2 separate regions of the Homo sapiens genome follow, and region 2 is linked to region 1. The links are contacts of gene promoters, found by promoter capture Hi-C in blood cells and fetal thymus (Javierre and others, 2016). All regions are on one chromosome and are shown on one strand. Each heading gives the region's core, a stretch centred on a gene start or on the middle of the fragment in contact. The rest is flanking DNA. Distances are from core to core; before and after follow the strand shown.

Region 1 (4,827 bases), core at 499-2,998:
TGTGCAAACTTTGTAACATTTATTTTAATTTTAAACTCAAATGTGTAGACATGTTATTGTCCATATATTGTTTTAACACTGACATATGCACGGAAACAAGTTACTAGGAAACTGTTTTTTCCATCTTACATTCATCTGTTGCTTAGATAATTCTACAAAGATAATTCTTTAAAATGTTAGATTTTCTGAGTTTGAGTTTGGGGAATAAGTTAGACTTACGTGGCTATGAGAATGGGGACAAACAAAAAATATCTATATCTATAGGAATCATCCTTCCCAGTCTCTGTGGACTATTCATTTAGTACATTTAGGGACTGGCGAAATTCTCACCCTCCTTTGACTGGTGATAGTCCATAGTCCTTTGCCATCTCAACACCCACTCATGCCATCAACATGCATCCACGATGCTGCATTTAGAATCTGTAACCGAATTGACCTTCTTCCTTGTGTAGAGGTCTTTTTGATTTGGGAGGCCATCCCTTTAGAAACTGGGCACACCTCAGCTGGTTCTCCAGCAGGGCAGGCACTGGGATGAGAGCTGGACCTTTCTCACTGTCCTTACAGCCCAGAGGATACAGTTGGCCTGGCCCCATCTGCCTCCCTACCATTTTCCGGGGGCCTCTGTCGTGCCAGGCCTGGGACTGGGCATTTGACCAAAAGGTCAAGTTTATTCTCTCCTCCCTCCATCCTTCTCTCTCTCTTCCCACCTGTCCAGTCTCATTCCACGGCAGTCAGTCCATCTATCCATCCGTTCCCCAAATTAGAGGAAGGCCTACCGTCTGGACTGAAAATACCCCTCCCAACAAGCCACTGGGATAGCCAAGAGATGGACTTGTTCATCTGGAGCTGGAATTGGGTTTTACAATTTCATCAACAGCCCTTCCTCAGTATCTTACAGCCACTCTGCCCATTTTTTCTTAAACCATGTTTTCGAGGCTGACATTTCGGATGACATTTTTCTGTCATCACGGACATCAAATTGCCTGTGAAAATCTGCAATCACCCAACCAGCGCCTGGGCCTTGGGTGCAGCGAGAACCCGGCGGGGAGGCGGCCCCGACACCCGCGGTGCAGATCCAGGCGGGAAATGTCGGAGCCAGCGCCGTGCACTCCTCCCTGTTCTGGGCGCGCCGGGTGCAGAGGGCGCTCGCGGCGGCCTCGGACACAGATGCGGAGGGGCTCCGTGGGGACGGGATATCGCGCCTGCGGGGCTAGGAGCAGTATCTCTAGGGAGTTTTCTGGTCTTGGGGTGCCAGATTCAGAAGATATTGGAAGGCTCGGAGTTCTGGGGACACCCAGCCGTCAGGGAGGGCTCAGAGGGTGCCTTTGGGTCTGAGAGGCAAGGATCACATAGATCTGGGGCGCACTCTGGTCCAAGCTGGGCTGGGGCTGGAGGGGACAGAGGCGCTCTGGGGGCGCGCTCTGAACGTGGGGCAGGAGTGGGGAGGCTCAGAGGCGCCTTGGGGTCCTGCTGGAGAAGTTCTGGAAGCACATTCTGGTCTGAGGCTGAGGGAGGGGAGGGAGTAGGAGGATGATGGGTACCAGGCAGGGTCCGAGGGCCCCTCTGCGCTCCCAGAGGCTGGGATACAGAGCAGGTGGGAGGGGAAGGAGAGCGCCCTCGGGTCCCCTGGAGACTCACCTTCTTGGCCTTTTTGCCCCCAACGGGTGGCATCTTCGTGGTGTCCAGACAGGTGGTCGACACGGATGCGGACCGACTAGGCGAGCCTTCCCGCTGCGCAGCCCCGAGCTGCTCCGAGTCCGCAGCCTGCCTCTTTATACCCGCAGTTGGGCGTGGGGAGGGCCTCCCAGCCACCGCGCGGGCCAACACGGACCTTGGGCGGGAACACGCCCACCAGCCCTTCATCAGGCCCGCCTCCTGTTGGGAACCTGGCCTGCCAAGGAGGTAATCCAGATTGTTCACCCAAATGGGTGGAACCACCGAAAAGTAAGATAAGAAAAAGCGAGGTTGCCACTCGCTCAGATTTCAAACCTGCCTAGCGTCCCTTTTGCCTCTTGCACTTTTGCCCCGACCCTGACCGTCCTCTCGCTCACCTGGGATCATGCACCATGGCCCACTTAGGCTGCCAGAGAGGCCTCTGAGAAGTCCATTCGATGCTCAGATATTTGTCAAAGGCCAAGGCGTCAAGATTATGGAATCAGGGGATGAAGTCCTGGAAGATCTTCAGCCTGGAGTGTGATCTCCTGTGTGATATACATCCAGTATAACGGGACACAAATGCGGCTTTAGTAGAGGAGTCCAATACTAACCCTGAATTGGCGGGTATGTTCAAAATGACCTTCTACCCCTATACCCAAACATGCCTTGCAGTTTCTAATAACACAGTAGTTTCTAATAAGAATATGTTTGTAATATTTAACAAGGACAGACTTTTAACATTTATAAATGGAAGCAGAAATGTACTTTGAAGACTTCAAAATTCAGCATGAAAACGATATAAAAACATAGACATTAGAAGAACTGGAGGGAATAGAGATGTTAACAGTAGTTACCTATTGATGGCGGAATTAAGGCTTGTTTTATTTTATTCTTCATGTTTCACTGTATTTTCCAAAATATTTTTATAATGAGAATACATTGATTTTAAAATAATAAAAACATTACTTTAAAAAATGTACAGCATGGCCTGCACGGTGGCTCATGCCAGTAATCCTAGCACTTTGGGAGGGTGAGGCGGGTGGATCACCTGAAGTCAGGAGTTCGAGACCAGCCTGGCCAACATGGTGAAACCCCCGTCTCTGCTAAAAATACAAAAATTAGCCGGGCATGGTGGCAGGCGCCTGTAATCCCAGCTACTCGGGAGGCTGAGGCAGGAGAATCGCTTGAACCCTGGGGGCAGAGGTTGCAGTGAGCCGAGATTGTGCCATTGCACTCCAGCCTGGGCAAAAAGAGTGAAACTCTGTCTCAAAAGAAAAAAAAATGTACAGCATGACAGTAAATAGCCTACAGAACAATGAAATATCTGAAACACAGTTCAGAAAATTTTACCCAAATAAAAGCATGTAAAAAAATTCTGTATGTGGACAAACAACCTCCATTTCAACACATGCAGAGAAGAAAGTTACTGCAACACCTGATGAATTAATACAAATTTAACGGCTAAAGTGACATGTGTTTGAAATACAACTGAGAAAGTAAAAATGTCCTTTTGCTTCTAAGTATGTCAAGTTTAAAATGGAAAAAGAAATGAAAAGGTGAAAGGATATACTGTTATTCAAGTGATCTATTATTTCATTGGCTCCTCCACCCCCAACTGTGATCTGGGGTCAGCAAGAATGAGGCATGAGGTAAAGTCATTCTTCACAGTACCTAGATTAAAAAAAAAAAACACCTTGAAGGCATTGGAGTATCCGAATAGGTAACAGTTTAGTTAGTTAATGCGTTAACTAGTTAAGGTATTCACCTGGTGAGCACTGGTGAGATGAACAGGTCTAGAGTGAGCCCCGCGGTGGCTGCAGGGAGCAGCCGCAGTCGTGGGTATCTGGCACTAGGAGGCGGTATAAGCACTCTAACACTCAATAAAGGCTGAAAGCCGACGTTCCCAATTTCAGTTTCCTCAAAATGTGGCAAAACTTGGGAGAAATTTTAAACTAGTAGCATTAAATTTAGAAGTGAATTATGAATTTTTAATAGGTAATATAGACACATGGCAAAAATTTTACTTTTTTAATCTTTATTTCTCCAAGAACAAACATGGCAAAAAAAATTTAGAAGCCTTTCCCCAGCTGCTGTTGCAGATCAAGTCCCCTCCCTGGAGGTAACCACTATTGCCTGTTAACCGTTCTTCCAGAGGAATTTTATGCATACCTAAGTGTATAGATGTATATAAAAGGATTTGTACTCGAACGTAGGGAATTTTCGTTTTTTAAAAAAATTATCGACTCCCAGCTTTTCCAGAATGATTTATAGGTGCTGTCAAAATATTTTTGTTTTTTCTGGGCCTCTCAATTTGTTGTCCTAACTATCCCATGCCCCCACCCCCAATTAGGTCCATTTAAAAAATTATTCACTTATTTCCATAATAGATGATAATATCCACCATGTATGTAAAAGGCACTAAGCCTTTTACTTACACAACATTATTTACCCCACACAACTCTGTGAGGTGGGTGTCCCCTCTTTGTTCTCAAGAACCACGAAGTTAGGGAGTTAGATGGATCATCAGCATGCTCCCTGAAGTTTCTTTGCCCCATTCCCAGAGAACTAAGTCTGCTTGGATACCACTTAGGAAGTGAGGTTTTTTGCTTGTTTGTTTGTTTTTTTGAGATAGAGTCTCACTCTGTCGCCCAGGCTGGAGTGCAGTGGTGCAATCTCAGCTCACTGCAACCTCTGCCTTCTGGGTTCAAGTGATTCTCCTGCCTCAGCATCCCGAGTAGCTGGGATTACAGGCTGGCGCCACCACACCCGGCTAACTTGTATTTTTTGGTAGAGACGGGGTTTCACCATGTTGGAGAGGCTGGTCTTGAACTCCTGACCCCAGGTGATCCATCCGCCTCGGCCTTCCAAAGTGCTGGGATTACAGGCGTGAGCCACTGCACCTGGCAGGAAGTGAGTTCTGCAATAAACTGTCCTTGGGAGGCTGCCTATGTTCTCTGATCTCTACTGGAGTCAACCAGATGAGGGAGGTCATAAGACTGAAGTCCATGGCTGTGTACAAAGATGTTGGGGGTTAAAAATAAATCCCAAAGAAGAAGAGGAGACTTAGAGCTGGCGATCCACCCCCTTCATTTTACAACCTCAAAAGATACTCGGTTATTGTTCTGTCTCTGACCAGTGCTTTGTTCTATTTGAAATCCTATTTATTCACTC
Region 2 (5,063 bases), core at 2,453-4,952, 350 kb before region 1:
GTCCAATGTCCCAGCGGGAGGCTGAGGTGAGAGGATCCCTTGAGCCCAGGAGTTCAAGTTAGGCCTGGGCAACATAACCCCATCTCTTAAAAATAAAAAAAAAAGGCAAATTATAAGTCACATTTAATTATACTTAATATAGCCCCTTTTCAACAGATAAAAATAAAATAATATGAAACCTGGATAATCTTGGGAAATTGAGACTGTATGACTACCATACATAAAATAACAGATGTGCTATTCATTGGTAGGCTTATAGCTAGATGACTCGAGGACCATGTAGAAAAGACTTAGCTGTAATTAGTACCTGTGACTAGACAAAACTTGATCAAATGAAAGTTAGAGTCACTTCCAAGTCTGAGGGATGTTGGAAAGAAAAATGCATAGAGAAAGAGAGTGGGAATTTACTGCTTGAAAAACACTCAGGAGTTTAACTTATTTGGCAATAGAATTGTGTTATTTTTGACGTCTAGTTTAACATTAAATATGTTTTGTGTAAATTGTTTTTTGACGCTGAGCCAGGAAAACATTTTAAGCAGCTCTAAGTTAAAAGTTTGACTAACATGCATTTACTTACTCCTCCATTACCTCCACCAGCTCACCCTTTCACAATGGAGTAATTTAGAGGAGTATCAGAAACACTTTGGTATGGAAAAATAGAACCTAAATTTTATACCAAAGGACCATAATTTACCTTTATGTGGTTAGAATTGGATATATGAGATGTCGTTTGAGTACTGAATTTTAGATTCTGTCTTTTTCACTATTGGAGCTAAAATAAGGTTTTAAACAAGCTCAGAAATGAGTATAGCAATTTGTTGCGCTCAGATGGCCCAGAAATACATGAATAGCTGCTTAAGCTCTCTAGTGATCAGGCATATGCAAATTGAAACTACAGTGAAATACCATTTCATGTCCAAAATTGGCACAAATTAAAGATGTTACGTGGACATTACCAAATGTTAGGAGAGTGTAGTATAAAACTAATGAGTGTAAATTGGTACAGGTGCTGTGACCTGTACCAATACCCTATGACTAGGAATTCTGCTTCTAGTGTATCTCTTGTGTGCGTGCACAAGAAAACATACAGGAACATTGTTTGTAATGCTATTTTGTAACAGTGCAAAAATGAGAACTACTTATATGTCTGTCGATAAGGAAATAGCTACAGAAAATATTGTCTAGTCCAACGTTCTCCACTAGAAATATGATGTGAACAACATATGTTATTTGAAATTTAGTTTTAAGGTTCTAAAAAGGAAGTCAAAATCAATTTTTATATATTTTGACACAGTTTATCCAAAATGCTATCTTTTTAAAAGTGATTAATGTAAAAGTCATGGAGATACATTACATTTTTTAAAAAAATACTAAGTCTTTGAAATCCATTATGTATTTTGCATTTAGAGCACATCTCAATTTGAATGTTAAATGTTTATTGGAAATACTTGATCTGAATTTAAATTTCATAAAATTTCTGTTGGAAAAAGTAGATTCACATACCCAGGTTGTTCCATATATATTTAAAAGCTTTTCAGACACTGAACTGAGTATCAGATAAAGTTTAAATTAATTCACTTTCTCAGTTGCACCAGCTGAATTTCACATGCGTAGTGGTCAGGTGGCTAGTGGCTACCATACTGGATAGTGTAATTCTAATCATAACATGTATTGTTATGTGGCAGTTAAATGACCTAGGCTGGGCATGGTGGCTCATACCTTTAATCGCAGCACTTTAGGAGGCCGAAAAGTGAGAGGATCGCATGAGCCCAGGAGTTTGAGACCAGCATGGGTAACAGTGAAACCCCATCTCTAGAAACTAAAAAAAGCTGGATGTGGTGGTGCACGCTCATCTGTAGTCCCAGCTACTCTGGAGGCTAAGGCAGGAGGATCGCTTGAGCCTGAGAGGTCAAGGCTGAAGTGAGCTCTGATCGCACCACTGCACTCCAGCCTGGGCAACAGGGCAAAACCCTGTCTCAAAACAAAACACCGGCCTATATTATATAAAGTAAAATGTGGCCGATTATTCAAATTTTGCATTGTCAATAAGAACTAGAGAAGTGCTGTGACGTTTTATTGTTTGTTTTGAGCAATTTAAAATATTCACAATAATACAGGGAATACTATACACATATCCACTTTTCAAATTTCACAAATGTTAACATTTTGTTCAAGTATCTCTGAATCTTTCTCTTCAATCCTGAGTTTACTTATTAGAATATTTATTTGTTTAGATATTATATGGACTGAACATCCACTCATTTAGTTTGTAGCAAGTAGAAAAGTGTACCTTAGAGTATTATGATTGTTCGTTGAAGGTGATATTAGCACTTAAATGGCCTTTATAGCATTTCATTAGTTTTTTTTTTTTTTTTTTTTTTGAGATGGAGTTTCACTCTTGTTGCGCAGGCTGGAATGCAATGGTGCAATCTCGGCTCACTGCAACCTCAGCCTCCCAGGTTCAAGCCATTCTCCTGCCTCAGCCTCCTGAGTAGCTGGGATTACAGGCCCCTGCCAGCACGCCCAGCTAATTTTTTTATTTTTAGTAGAGACATGGTTTCACCATGTTGACCAGGCTGGTCTTGACCTCAAGTGATCCGCCCGCCTTAGCTTCCCAAAGTGCTAGGATTACAGGCCTGATCCTCTGCGCCCAGCCTAATTCATTTGTTTTTAAAGTTTTTAAGGCCGGGCACAGTGGCTCACACCTGTAATCCCAGCACATTGGGAGGCCGAGGCAGGCAGATCACAAGATCAAGAGATCGAGACCATCCTGGCCAACATGGTGAAACCCTATCTCTACTAAAAATACAAAAATTAGCCAAGTGTGGTGGTGCACACCTGTAATCCTAGCTACTTGGGAGGCTGAGGCAGGAGAATTGCTTGAATCCAGGGGGCAGAGGTTGCAGTGAGCCGAGATTGTGCCACTGCACTCCAGCTTGGTGACAGAGTGAGACTCTGTCTAAAAAAAAAATAGTTTTTAAGAACTGGATGTCTATTGGGAAATCACTTAGATTTTTAATAAAACGCCAGGAGTTTAACCTATTTGGCAATAGGTCAAATAGTACTACCTATATTAACAATAATTAAATTCTAGTTATTAACAAGAGATTACTTTCTTTAGATTTCCCAGGCATATACTGTCAGTTCTCAGAATTTAGCTTGAGTTAGTGGAAATCATTTGGGAAGAGGAGAATATTTAAAGTCAAGTAAAATGGAATGTGCCATATCAATTCTAATTGTAATTTATTTATTATTATTATTATTATTATTATTTTTGAGACAGGGTCTCCTCTGTTGGCCAGGCTGGAGTGCAGTGGCACGATCTCAGCTCACTGCAGCCTTGACTTACCTGGCTCAGGTGATCTCTCCTGTCAAGTAGCTGGGACCACAGGTGTGCGCCACCATGCCCGGCTAATTTTTTGTAGAGATGGGGTTTCCCCATATTGCCCAGCTGGTCTTGAACTCCTGGGCTCAGGCAATCTGCCTGTCTCAGCCTCCGAAAGTGCTGGGATTACAGGTATGAGCCACCACACCCAGCCTAAAAATGTAATTTTAAATGTGATCTATCAGGCATACTTGATATATTTTTAAACACTGAAATTTTACCTGAAATGGATGGGGTTTTTAATGGGTGGTAAGGACAAAGTCACTTGGCAGTTATTTAATACATACCAAGCAAGTTTCTTTGAACATTGAAGATGTTGCTTAAATGTGCATTGAATGAGGTTGCTTGCTTTTTACTCTGAATTTCAGCATATTCCTTAATACTTTATAGCTACTTATTAAAGTGGCCAAGAGTAAGTACTAAAATCTCTTAATAACTAATACCATGTCCTATAGATTATAAAAACTACTCTTAAAGTAAGAGGTGACATATAAGAAATGTAAACAGTAGCTCACGCCCGTAATCCCAGCACTTTGTGAGGCTGAGGCCGGCGGATCACGAGGACAGGAGATCGAGACCATCCTGGCTAACACGGTGAAACCCCATCTCTACTAAAAAATACAAAAAATTAGCAGGGTGTGGTGACGGGTGCCTGTAGTCCCAGCTACTCGGGAGGCTGAGGCAGGAGAATGGCGTGAACCTGGGAGGTGGAGCTTGCAGTGAGCCAAGATTGCACCACTGCACTCCAGCCTGGGCGACAGAGCGAGACTCTGTCTCAAAAAAAAAAAAAAAAAAAAAAAAAAGAAGAAATGTAAACAGTACTGTTACTCTTTAAGTGTATTTTTATATAATTTAAGAATCTTAATTTCCAAATGGAAATTTTAGATTTGATATTTTCTTCAAATACATCAATTAAATACTTAATGTCATGAAAATATTTCTGATAACTATAATGCAAACAATTATTTTTTAAAACCTTTAATTTCAGTGTTCACCCAACAGATTAAAAGATCAAGGAATTCAGATCATACATTTTTTTTTCTTTTTTAAAGAGACAGGGTCTTGCTCTGTCACCCATCCTGGAATGCAGTGGTGTACAATCATAGCTCGCTGCAGCCTCCAACTCCTGGGCTCAAATGATCCTCCTGCCTCATCCTCTTGAGTAGCTGAGACTATAGGCATGTGCCACCACAGCCAGCTAATTTTTAAATTTTTTATGGAGGCGAGGTCTTGCTGTTGGCCAACCTGGTCTGGAACTCATGGGCTCAAGCGATCCTCCCGCTTTGGCCTCCCACAGCACTAGGACTACAGAGGTGAGCCACTGTGCCTGGCCAGATCATACAATTAAAAAAAAAAATCCTTCCAGAAGTCTCGATACTTCTATTATAGCAAGGTTACTTTACAATTTTGTATTTGCTATAGAGTAACTTCCAGGTTTTAAAAAACATGCACCTGCTATATTTTTGGTTCATCACTAGGTGGAGTTGTTGCAGTATAATTATGTGTTGGGTAGCCATTAGCAGAAAAACCTTTGCATTCTTCAAAGTTCGTATATGGTTTTTAAAAAAGAACATTGTATGTATAAGCAATCAGCTTATTACACATATCATGGCATAGGGACATACAGTTGGTAGTATGTTATATTATGCAGTCATAATCTCTGAGCAGCATCAAAACA

Evidence for each region. The method cuts DNA at HindIII sites, captures the fragments that hold promoters and counts their contacts. A CHiCAGO score of 5 or more calls a contact.
Region 2: a fragment that was not itself captured here is called in contact with the fragment with the promoter of BHMT in region 1 in 1 of 17 cell types (erythroblasts); the score reaches 5.5 in erythroblasts.

What each region holds. Positions count from the first base shown.
Region 1 is chr5:79,108,730-79,113,556 of GRCh38, reverse strand. It overlaps BHMT (betaine--homocysteine S-methyltransferase), which reads right to left and starts at 1,748. Exons shown (of 8, transcript NM_001713.3): 1 at 1,639-1,748. The coding sequence starts at 1,671. RefSeq lists an enhancer at 578-1,422. The HindIII fragment of the contact is 17,379 bases long and covers 1-4,827 here.
Region 2 is chr5:79,464,710-79,469,772 of GRCh38, reverse strand. The region is part of intron 1 of HOMER1 (homer scaffold protein 1); the gene reads left to right. LOC107986426 (a long non-coding RNA gene) reads left to right here. Exons shown (of 3, transcript XR_001742758.2): 3 at 1-1,764. Among named protein-coding and RNA genes, the nearest start is that of HOMER1, 47 kb to the left of the region's middle. The HindIII fragment of the contact is 4,339 bases long and covers 1,533-5,063 here.